Linked DNA regions of Homo sapiens: all the other regions are linked to region 1. The links are contacts of gene promoters, found by promoter capture Hi-C in blood cells and fetal thymus (Javierre and others, 2016). All regions are on one chromosome and are shown on one strand. Each heading gives the region's core, a stretch centred on a gene start or on the middle of the fragment in contact. The rest is flanking DNA. Distances are from core to core; before and after follow the strand shown.

What was found. Contacts are between HindIII fragments. The CHiCAGO score rates a contact against its expected background, and 5 or more counts as called.
Region 2: a fragment that was not itself captured here is called in contact with the fragment with the promoter of EFNB2 in region 1 in 1 of 17 cell types (total B cells); the score reaches 8.1 in total B cells.
Region 3: a contact is called between a fragment that was not itself captured here and the fragment with the promoter of EFNB2 in region 1, in 1 of 17 cell types (total CD4 T cells). The highest score is 7.2, in total CD4 T cells.

The regions. Positions count from the first base shown.
Region 1 is chr13:106,533,987-106,537,727 of GRCh38, forward strand. It overlaps EFNB2 (ephrin B2), which reads right to left and starts at 1,676. Exons shown (of 5, transcript NM_004093.4): 1 at 857-1,676. The coding sequence starts at 978. RefSeq lists a silencer at 1,464-2,123 and an enhancer at 2,704-2,773. The HindIII fragment of the contact is 2,990 bases long and covers 104-3,093 here.
Region 2 is chr13:99,956,731-99,960,471 of GRCh38, forward strand. CLYBL-AS3 (CLYBL antisense RNA 3) reads right to left here and starts at 435. Exons shown (of 5, transcript NR_120421.1): 1 at 353-435. RefSeq lists enhancers at 1-490, 491-1,465. The HindIII fragment of the contact is 359 bases long and covers 1,524-1,882 here.
Region 3 is chr13:101,142,240-101,145,980 of GRCh38, forward strand. NALCN (sodium leak channel, non-selective) reads right to left here. Exons shown (of 44, transcript NM_052867.4): 16 at 2,521-2,657; 17 at 841-982. Among named protein-coding and RNA genes, the nearest start is that of LINC00411, 200 kb to the left of the region's middle. The HindIII fragment of the contact is 1,909 bases long and covers 642-2,550 here.

The DNA.
Region 1 (3,741 bases), core at 426-2,925:
GCTGTAGAGTCCGGTAAGAGCAAATCTGATCCTAAGGATCCCATTCCTACCAGGGTCCCGAGGGAGAAGGCTTCAGGAGCAGTGTCGACTGGGCAGGGCCCTAAGCTTTTATAGGAAGTGCATTACAATCAGGTCGGCCATCGAGACCGCATACTCCGGGGCTACCGGCTTATGAACGAAGCGGGAGGCCGAGGTGCGGCGGGCCCTCAGGGAGAAGCCTAAGGCCCGTCTCCCCGGCGCGGAGGAAAGGGCTCGACGCCCGAGTTCTCCTGCGAAGCAGGCGAGCTCCCCGCGCACCCTCGGGCTGGCGGCGCGGTGCCAAGGCGCCCCGGCTCCAGGGCTCTGCGGGCAGCGTAGCGACTCCAGGCTCCCCTCTCCAGAACGCGCTTCGCTGCCAGCGTCCTGCCACCCCGGTCGCCCGCCCGCGGGCCCCGGACCACGCCGCCCGCGCTCCCCGCGAATGCAGCATCTCCGCCTCTCTCCAGAGCCCACCAGTCCCCGCGTGCCGGCCAGCCTAGATTGTGGCCATGTCCTTCGTCCTCGAAAACAGGAGAGGGTCAGGTATCGCCATCGGACACCTTCCCGGACTTGACACCCGAGCCGATAGTAGCTTTTAGCGCCTGGGAGCGTTCGGGGGAGGAAAGGCGGAGAGACCGTCCGTTCCAGCGGGGCTCGGGTTGGAAAGCCGAGCGAGGAGTCTCCACCTAGTGAAATGGGGCGGGGGTTGGGGGTGGGGGACGGGGAACCGAGGTTCCAGAAACAGGCTCCGAGGCCCCGCGGACTGACCCCTCCTCCCGCCCGGACGGCGCGGCGGACCCCGGGGCGGGGACATAGGGGGATCGCGGACGCCACTTACTTGGAGTTCGAGGAATTCCAATAGATAGGCTCTAAAACTATCGATTTGGAAATCGCAGTTCTGCATAAAACCATCAAAACACCCCAGCAGTACTTCCACACGGAGTCCCTTCTCACAGCCATGGCGAAGCCACTCCCAGCTCCGCGCACTCCGGGCCAAGAAGGGACTGACGGGACGCAGGCTGGGACCCCCAATCCTCCGGGGCAGACTGGCGGGGAAGACGGCGTGCGCCCGCAGGCAGCTCCGAGGCGCGCTGCGCAGCTCCAGCGGTCGCCGGGCCAGGTGCGCTCGCTCTCCGGGGCCCTCAGGGCGCGGGGCGGGAGCGCACGCGCGGGGCGCGGCGGCGCGGCGGACTCGGGGTTCCGGGGCGCCGCGCCGGACGCAGCTCGGACGGCCGACTCCCGTGCGGCTCCAGGGTGCCGGGCCGGCCGCGGCTGGCGGGTGGGCGCGGGGCGGGTGCGGGCTGGGACACAAAGACCCGGAGCGGAGACGACCGGCGCGGGCGGCGGGCGCTGCGCCCCGAGCGGGGCCGCCTGTGACTATAGATCCAGTGCAGCGGGCAGCGGCCCGAGCGCGCGGGCGCCGCGTCGGCGCGGTTCCATGTCCCGGAGCACGGAGCGGAGTAGGGCGCCTCCGGGCGCGCAGGAGCCTTCTCAGTCCGCGCGGCTCCCGGCCCCCAGGGCAGGAAAGAGGGAGCTCGGTCCCCGCCGCGGGCTCCGGACGCGCGCGGGCCTTTGTGTGCGGGGAGGGCGCCGGGACCCGCTGCGTGCGCAGCTCCTCGCTCCGGCCGGCGCCGCGGTCCCCGCCGAGGAGAGTCAGCGCGGCCGCCGCGCTGTCAGAGCGCTATAAACGCGGGGCCCCGCCCCGCCGCGCGAAGCCCATTGGCCCGCGGCTCCGCGGCCGCGCGCTGGTTGGACGGCCGGTCCGTCCGTCCGCCATCCCCTCCCGACATTGGGTGCCGCGAGGCGGGGCTCGGGCTGACAGGTGAGCCCCGCCCCTGGCTCCCGCGGGCGGCGGGAGCGGAGCAGAAGCCGGGCAGGAGAAGCGCTCAGCGCGTGCACAGGGCGCCCCCGGGGCGGCGAGAGGCCTTCTGGGCGCGGTGCAGACGTGGAAACAGCGACGGCCGAGTAGCGGGCCACCTGTCTCCGCGCCCGGGGGCGCCTTCCCCCTCGGCGGAATCAGAGGGCGCGGCTTTCCCTCGAGCAGTGCGGAAGGCAGCAGGCTCCGCTCGGCGTCCCTTCTCCGCAGATGCGGCGCTGCCCCGCGTGCAAGACTTGCACTCCGCGCGCACCCTTAGAGCTCCCGGCTTCTGCGCGCTTCTCCCGACGCCTCTCGGCGAGGGCTTCTCACTTGATTTTGGTACCAATCGCCTACGGCTCAGTTTCAGTCAGTGGGGCCGGGAATTGCAAGACGATTCCTGCGACGCGGCGCCGGAATTTGCAGCTCTAATCAGGGCCTGAGCATCGTCGCCTCCCGCCTTCTCTGCGGGCGTCTCCCTTCCCTCCTGGCCCCCCGGGAAGGTGGCGCCCCTGGAGCTTTCCCCGCGTGTCGCCGGCACAGGCACGACGCGGGGACCGTCTCACTAGCCTCTAGGAGACACGCGCGCTTCCCAAAGTGACCAGAGATTTAGAGGGTGTGAGATGGAAAAGTCAAGGCATGTGCTTCTCACTCGGCGTCTGCAAGACCCCAGAGCAGAGCTGGCAGGAACTCCTCGCTACTTTCCCGGTCGAGCGCCGGTGCTGACGCTCGTCCGTGACTTCCACGGAGCCACAGCGCCCACTAGCGGCCAGCTTTGCTTCTCCGCATCTCGAGCGCTCTGCGGTCCACCGACCCGGATCCAGCATACTGCAGCATCTAATCAAGTCACAGTTCCAAGGAAAATCTTTTTATATGTCCAACAGTAGGAAGAACACGGTAGAAATAAGGCACAGTGCAAATGTACGATTCAGTATGAAAAATTAAAATATACTGTATGCCCACGTTTTTTTTCAATTTAATGCCGTCCACCCCAGGATTTATGTTTCAAACACAAACTGGGCAGTAATTCTACAAATTATGTATTTTTAAAACAAAGTATCCACTACGCTAAATTTAAAAATGCATATGGTAAAACACCTTGTTTTCTTTCACTCTTCTTTGTAACAATTTCTGAAGATTTTTATGGTACGTTGCTTTTAAGTATCCGTTTTTGAAACATTAGTCTAACTTAACGTATACATCTCAGTTGGAGTGGTAAAAGCTTGTGAAGACTAGTTTAAGATAGAAAACACATTAAGGCATACAAAGTACTGAATACACTTACTCTTCCAAACAGATCTTTGAGAGCAGAAAAGTTTCATAATTTATTTTCATTTTAAATAAGCCTTCAAACTAAATATATATATACACACATATACGTATACACACATATACACATATTTATACATATATACACATATGTACGTATATATATACACACACATATATACGTATATATATACACATATATATATGCACACACACACATATATATATAAAATTTATTTTAAAAAGGCTCCACCACGGTATGACGATTTGAACAGCGGATTCCCAGGAAGCACCAACAACCCAGGAAGCAGCAGGCACTATGACTCCTACCTTGACAAGGGTGAGAAAGGGCTAGTTTTTAGTATGCTAAAATACCATTTAAGGAACTCATTGAAATTGAATATAAAGTTAGCTTAATGATCTTTTAAAAGAACACTGGGTACTCAGTACCTTTTGACAAACTTATATTGTGAAATTTAAATTGTGACCTCTTAGCTCACTACATCCTCCTCTCCAAGTAAACTAGAGGAAATACAGGAAATTTGCATTGTCTGAAAATAAGCCAGCTTCCAAAAATAACATTTTCAGTAAATCAGAAA
Region 2 (3,741 bases), core at 453-2,952, 6.6 Mb before region 1:
CTTGCACAACTAGTCAACCCCGCTGGGACCCGGGCCGCGGGCTGGGGGAGAGAACGCGCTCCTCGCTGCTAATTACAAATAAATGATGATGTGCTCACTAAGTAATTGATTTAATGAAGTTCCTATGAAACTATTAAACCCGGGTGGAGGTCAGGCTGGAGGCGCCCCAGAGCGCCCATTGTGGGCTGTTTAACTCCACCAGGCTCCTCGGAAAGACATCGGGGCTAATAGGTGAAGTCACAGCTGCTCGCGCTGACTTCTCGGAGCGCCCGGCTGGCCGCGGGCACCCTCGCGCCCTCTTCTTGTAGCGCCCTTGTGCCCCGCCGCCCGCGCCCCGCGCCGGCCAGCTTACCCACGCCACTCCCAGCCCTGTCGCCAGCTCCCGAGGGCCTCTCCAAAGGGATCCCGGGTCTCGTTAAGAGCGGGAAGTTGAGCACTGAACTTGTGCTCACCGCCAGCAGTCGGCGGCGTGCACCGCCGCCCACCCCTCCCTCCTCACTCCACCCCCGCCACTTCGTGCAGGAACTCCAACCAGTGTGCCACGCAGGGTGCTCGCGAGCTCTTGGCAAGGTGCCTGGATCCCGAGCGTGTGCCCAGTGCACTGGCTGGGGCTGGGCTGGGGGGGTTGAATTGCGCGTGAGCGTGTGTGTGGGGGGGGTGGTAGGGAGGTGGGTGTATGCGTACGAGAGAGAGTGCGTTCCGGGCCAAAAGGCCATCTTTCTGCATCCGTTATCCTGGCCTGGGCCCTGTTCATGCAAAAAAGTAGAGGAGGTAGGGACAGCAGAGAAGAGGAATGAGGAAAGATGTGCAAAACAGATCACTCAGGTAGGCGGTTGGGCCTGGGAACTCCAGTCCTAGGCTGTGCGGGAGTGGGCTGCTCTGGCGCGGCCCTCTCTCGCTGCCCCACCGCCCACCTCTGCCCGCGTCCTGACCCGGCCAGGCGTTCCTTGGCCCCAGAGCGACGCCTCCAGCTGCCAATGGGGCGTAGGGCCCCAGGCCCGCATCTCAGGGCTGTCTGAATGCGAGCTCTCCGGCCACCCATTGCGCTCAGATTCCAGTCTCTGCAGGAAGGGTAGGGACTAGTTCTCCTGCAACATGGCTCTTGGTGGAAACATGACCCGCCCCTTATCCAAAAGGCCAGAGGGAGCCCTGAATGGACACATTTTAAGATGGAGAATCAGACATTGCAAATGGATCAAAAGCTAAGGGTGCTAACCACACACACACACACACACACACACACACACACACACACACACACGGGGGTGGGGGTGGGGAGGGCATTTTACTGCATCTCCCCCCACCTACAAGGGGTCGTGTGGTAAAAGAGAAGGCCCACATCCAGGTGAAACGCCACATAGGGAGACGGGGGCGCCTGTTGGGCTTCTGGCTGCAGAAATCAATCTGCCGGGATGCCCTGCCCCCTCTGCCCAGCCAAATCTTGTCTCTCTTCATCAAGAACTGATAGTTAACAGAGTTTCTCAGAGCATGCATTTCATTTATGCCACAGTCAGTTGGCAGTAAGCTTCATTCCTTTTTTTATGTTAGGAATTTTCAACTGCTGAAACCAATTTCCATTTGACTTTGAATCAAACACTTGCAATGGGGGGCAGGGGAAAGGGACATTTTGGCGTGGTTGTTGGCGACTTTAAAGAGAACTCCACTCCCGCCTGGATCTTTGGTCTCAAAGAGGGTCTCAACCTCTGACTTCGGGGAATATTGACAAAAATCAATTTGAGTCTTGCTTGAGGTCTCAGTTTCGCCATCTGTAAAATTGGATCTGGAGATCCTTGGCTGAGGTCCTTTGGGCTTTATTTGTTTGTGATCTGTGAAGGGGACCGTAGGGAGAGGTGGAAGTCAGTCAAGACGCCTGTTTGCACCAAGCTTTTGTCTTTCTTTGTAGAAGCGAGTCCCTTTGTAAAATAACGCCCCGCCAGCCTGCCTAATGGATTTGTGCAGAGCTAGAGTTTTCATTTTCCCCACGCAGGAACGACGAAAGAGAGGGGGTCTTCCAACCCAGCGAGTCCCGCTTGGCCCCGGTTTGCCAGCGGCGCTCTCCAAAATGTGCCAAAAGCTGTGCTTGGGGCACTCTCTCGACCCCGCCCCGGGCAGCTGTTCCCATTTTGTTCCCGCCTTCCCTCCCCTCACCGCAGTCCCTCGTATTCCTTTAACGCCTGCTGCTGACTGCATCCCTGCTGCCCTTAATGTAGGATGGGCACTTCTCTTCAGCCTCCAAATGAGAAGTGACATTTGCACTCGGCTCAGCCAACGCGTGAGCAGAGCGCGGGGGCACAGGCCCATTGACCGAGCGCGGCCGAGGGGCCGGCCGGCTGGGCAGCATCCGAAGCTGCCTTAATTAATACCATCTTAAATAGTCCAGCAGCCACCGAAGACAAAGTTGAAGAAAGACTTTAAGGCTGAGTGCCCCTCGACAAGCTCTTTTTCCCGTGTCATTCAATATTTAATGCGCCCGCTTGTAATGCTACTACTGGTGTTCCTTTCTCAGCAAGGACATTATTTTTTCACGGTGCCCATAGCCAGGGAAAGCCCTTTAGGCAAAGAAAATCAAAATGTTTGTTGTTTTGGATGACTTATAACTCTTGTTTAACACAAGCACTTTCAGGAAAGTATAACAGGCGCAGCCTCCAAAGCAAACAACACAATCCTTGTGACAGAGTCGGACACAAAAAGCACATTGTCTTGCGGACTACCCCTTTTCTCTGGTGCTAGATGGGGGCCTGTCTCCGAATGAACACCACGATGCCATTTCACTTTTGAACTATTGTTTTTGAGTTATGCCATGTGGTCAAAAGGAGCGAGAAGGGGGTTGTTTCCAGGCTCATAAGACAAACGAGTTGCCTTTTCAATGAAATCCCCCCGCGATCCTTGAAAACGGAGTTTAAATGTCACCTCCGCCTTTCTAATGGGCACAGGGCTGGAGGCGACCCTTCAAAGCGCCTCGGTGATGAACGACCCTTATTAAATATGGCCCGAGCTGCTGGGAAAGTCCCGCGCCCGGCCGCGCGCCCTAGAGCGCCCCTCGCCGGTGGGCCCTGGAGGAGCCGGGCCTCCGCTGCCACCGAGCGGAGTCCGGGCCCGCAGAGCCCCAGCCCGGACTGGCGAGGGGGTGCAGAGGGAAGAAGAGGGAAGCCTGGACGAGGGGGGGCGTTGTAATACAACTTCTTATCTGCCGACCCCAACACGCCCGTGCGCCCCCAGCCCCAGAGCCTCGGCGTGAAAGGTTGGTGCGTTTCCCCCCTGACTCTTTTTGTCCGCAGCCGAGTGGCGTCTGCGAGTCTGAGCTGCAAAGTTACTGATTTGCAGGCTGCATGTTAAGGCAGCCCATGTAAGTAATTTCTCTGGGCACCCCAGCAAAGGAGAACAAATCGCTGACAAAGGCGAGCGCTTTCGATTCAGCGGCGTCGTTAAGGCAACCCCAAAGTATTCCTCCTATAATAAGTTCCACTTCAAAGGGTTTCTCATTCAGCGGTGACTGCTTCGCACTTTTATTAAGTCCGGGCTTTTTCACTCGGAGGAATCATCTGTTTGGTTATTTTTCATCGTGTTTATTTTTCACCATTCACACAGTACTTGTATTAAATAAACAAAGAACAATCGCTCTGCAAATAAAAGTACTTAGGTGGGGAGGGAAGGAAGAGGAGCTGGGGCTCTGGCGCCCCTGCCCCTCTCCCCCACCCTTCGAACATCACCCACTCCCCACCCCGACTCTCCTCCGCTCCT
Region 3 (3,741 bases), core at 346-2,845, 5.4 Mb before region 1:
CGAGTGATTCTCCTGCCTCAGCCTCCCGAGTAGCTGGGATTACAGGCATCCACCACCACGCCCAGCTGACTTTTGTATTTTTAGTAGAGATGGGGTTACACCATGTTGGCCAAGCTGGTCTCGAACTTCTGACCTCAAGTGATCCACCCGCCTCGGCCTCCCAAAGTGCTGGGATTACAGGGGTGAGCCATGGCACACAGCCCTTATATTATTTTTTTTAAAAGTGAATAAATGAAAAAGTACATTTCTTTAAAATTATTACCTAAATTTGCTTTATTTATATGTGGTTCCCTACTGATACTTTGCTGTGGAATCTGAAAAAAATTTTCCCTTCTACTTTTCAAATGATAAAGAAATAGGTAAACTAGAACATGAATAAGCTCTTGCACCTAAGTTCCTGCCACATACTAAGCATTGAATAAATGGCAATTCTTTCGACCGATTTTAGAGAAACATGCTCTCGTATCCTCTCTGATGTAATAAGTAGACATAAGCAGTTGTACTTGCAGGAGATGGCAGGTCATTACACCTGGACTGAGCCTTGGAGATCCCAGCCCTTTATTCCGCACCTGAGAAAATGCAGATTTGGGAGGCTCTTGATGTTTACAAAGTCGCATGGCTGCCACGTGGCGCAGCTCAAAAGCTTACACGGGCAAATGCAAAATTTCAATGCATAGAGTAAAAAATGTTAGGTTTCATGATATCTTTTACAAATGAAATCATTTTATTTTCATTATTCTCTTGAGAAATTGGATTCCAGGACCCTAAAGAACTCTGCGGTTCTTTTCTCAAACATAGATGCTTTTTAGAAGCCTGGTTATTCGAAACAGCAGATCTTACTTTTTGGTCGATGTATTTGTTGTCCTCAATTGCTGAGCGTTTGGAGTGGTCGCAGGAGGAGGAAGAGGTGGTCGGGAGGCTTCTCAGGAGGCAACATGTGTCCTGTTGCTGGCGGTCAATAAACTGCTTCATAAAACTCTCCCTTTGCAAATGAAGTATATGTGCATCAGGCATTATTAGTGGAAGGGAGCAAGTGACAGCATTTTGCAATGATGAGTTTGCTTGAGCAAAGATAAAGCAGTGATAAAAGATCATAGAAAACTAGATCATGACTAAAATATTTCATTAGCAACAGCTTCCTGAAACTCAGTGACTCCTGCTTAAAAAGCAATATCCTTGAAATAACTTTCAAGCAATATTACTCAGTAACCGATGGTAGTTTTTTGAATCTTTTTTTTTTTTGAGACGGAGTTTCACTCTTGTTGCCCAGGCTGGAGTGCAATGGTGCAATCTCAGCTCACCACAACCTCCGCCTCCCGAGTTTAAGCAATTCTCCTGCCTCAGCCTCCAGAGTAGCTGGGATTACAGGCATGCGCCACCACGCCCAGCTAATTTTGTATTTTTACTAGAGATGGGATTTCTCCATGTTGGTCAGGCTGGTCTCGAACTCCCGACCTCAGGTGATCTGCCCGGTTCGGCCTCCCAAAGTGCTGGGATTACAGGTGTGAGCCACCGCACCCAGCCCAGTTTTTTGAATCTTATTGTGGTAATAAAACACTTTTTTTCCCCCTCTAAGACTTGGAAGAATTAGTTGCTCTCTCTAAATGTCCATTTATCATAAGAATGACTAAGAGAGAATTTTACATTTTAAGACTCAAAAGCAAGTGCGTTCATCTGATCTTCAAAGCATAACGAAAATTCAAGTAACGTCTCTTCAAATTACCAAATTCAATTAATTTTGTTTTTTAAAATTAGAAATGCAAATATATTTCTACCCGAATTTTAAATATTATGGCACCATATATAGTCTCATACTTTTATAACCCCCCACAGAATTATTTTTAAAGCTAGTAACATATTACTGTAATTCTGTTTGTAATTTCTTGAGCTATAACTAGAAGAATTTCCTTTTATTATTAAAAATAGGTGTTTAAAGCATCTTTTATGCATTTGCTTAACTGGAGGGCAAACGTGGTAGAAAATCAAATCAGTATGAGTGGAAAAACGCCACGGTTCTTCTTTTAAAAAGTGGAAGGCAAATTATATATGGTAACCTGACATGGTAGGCTCCATAAACACTGTAGTAGTACACAAACTGGGCCAGCTGTGGTTTCCCTGTTTGCTTGAAAATAAAAGGGCCACAGAGGCAATTTTAGTCTCATACGGTTGGGGTCTGAGATTGATGTCTACCTGCCATCCCTGCAACACTGAGCAGCTTCTCCAGTTTCCTGGGATGTCCCATTCCCGAGGAGTCATCCCAGAGAGAAGCGATGGGAAGCAGCCTTCTTGCTTAGGCTACTGCAGTTATAAAGTGACTCTTCTGTGAATACATTGCTTAAAAGAGTCAAAGTTGTTTATTTATTTATTTATTTTAAATAGAGGTAGAGGTAGTAGAAAGATGACAATAAAATAGAAAGAAACCCAACCCACATATACTTAAAAGAAGGGTTAAATCAGATTTAAGATGATGAATCTTTTACAATATATGTGAAATATGCAATTAAAGAAGTATTTTGGTACCTGATTTTAGGAACTGTAAAATCTGAAGGAAGCTTTGAGATTTTCACCATTTGAGGTCTGTTTGGAAATTTTTCAAAGATTCGCAGGCGTAAAGGGAGCTTTTCTTTGGTGTCCGCATTTGCTTCACTTTGCTTTAACTAAAGAAAAATTGGAAAGAAGAAAAAAAGGGGGAACCTATAATACTATTATATACGTTACACAAAATTAGTTTTAGAATGGAAGCAATAAGTAATTACATGAAATGCCAGTAGATGGCAGCAAAGGCCTACCAAGTATACCTCTCTTGCCCGCCATAAATTGCTCTATGAGCTAAAACTTTTGAGTTAACAGAAAAAACAAAAACAAAACTTAACAACAAAAAAACTAAACCAGAAAAAAATTCAAGGAAAACTTTATGTCATTTTATTCCCAAAGACAAGTCTCTTTTCATCTCAGACATTTTTAATGGTTTACTATTACTTGCATATTTAAACAATAAAATTTGTTTACACATGCCTAACGCTAGAATTAAAAATTTTTAAAAACCATGAAAAATTTAAAAAAAATTAACTACAGAATCATACTAAGTAGTAGCATTTGTAAAGAGAGACAATGGCAGGAAAATTGGTTATGTCGCCTAGCAGATTAAAACAGAAAAGCTCAAAACACAAATACCACATTTGGTCCATGCAGCGAGTTTTCCATTTGGCTGCAAACATGCTTGGACACGACGAACTTAAATGCCATATGATATCTTTGTGAGGAATGACAATCAAATGGATTTATTTAAGAGTGTATATTTATATTTCTACAAATTGAGTTTCAGGGAAGCTCAGGTTTAACATCATAAACTGGAACAAGGCTGAACTAAGATACTACAAAGGTGGACTGTGGCTTCCAGAATTCATGCTATACTTTCCTATGCTCTCTTTTTCTCTCCCAGTGCCGACGTCTCTTGGAGTCCCTCTTTACTTCTGTTTACCTCTCCCCTTCTCCAGGACCTTCTGCAGAGTGGAACACCCTTCCCCACGTCTGCCCTGTCTTCTGTCCCGGCTTCCCAAACTGCATCTTTTAACACTGATGCCTTTCAAAGAGTACATGTAATTCAGGCTGCCTTTTTGGAGGGATTTGGGGGGTGGGTTTCAAAAATCATCCACTCATTTACCTCCTTGTTGGGTATGGTTTTACTCTATAATTTGTTTTAGGAATTATGGAAAGATAAGAATTAGAGGCCAAGAGAGC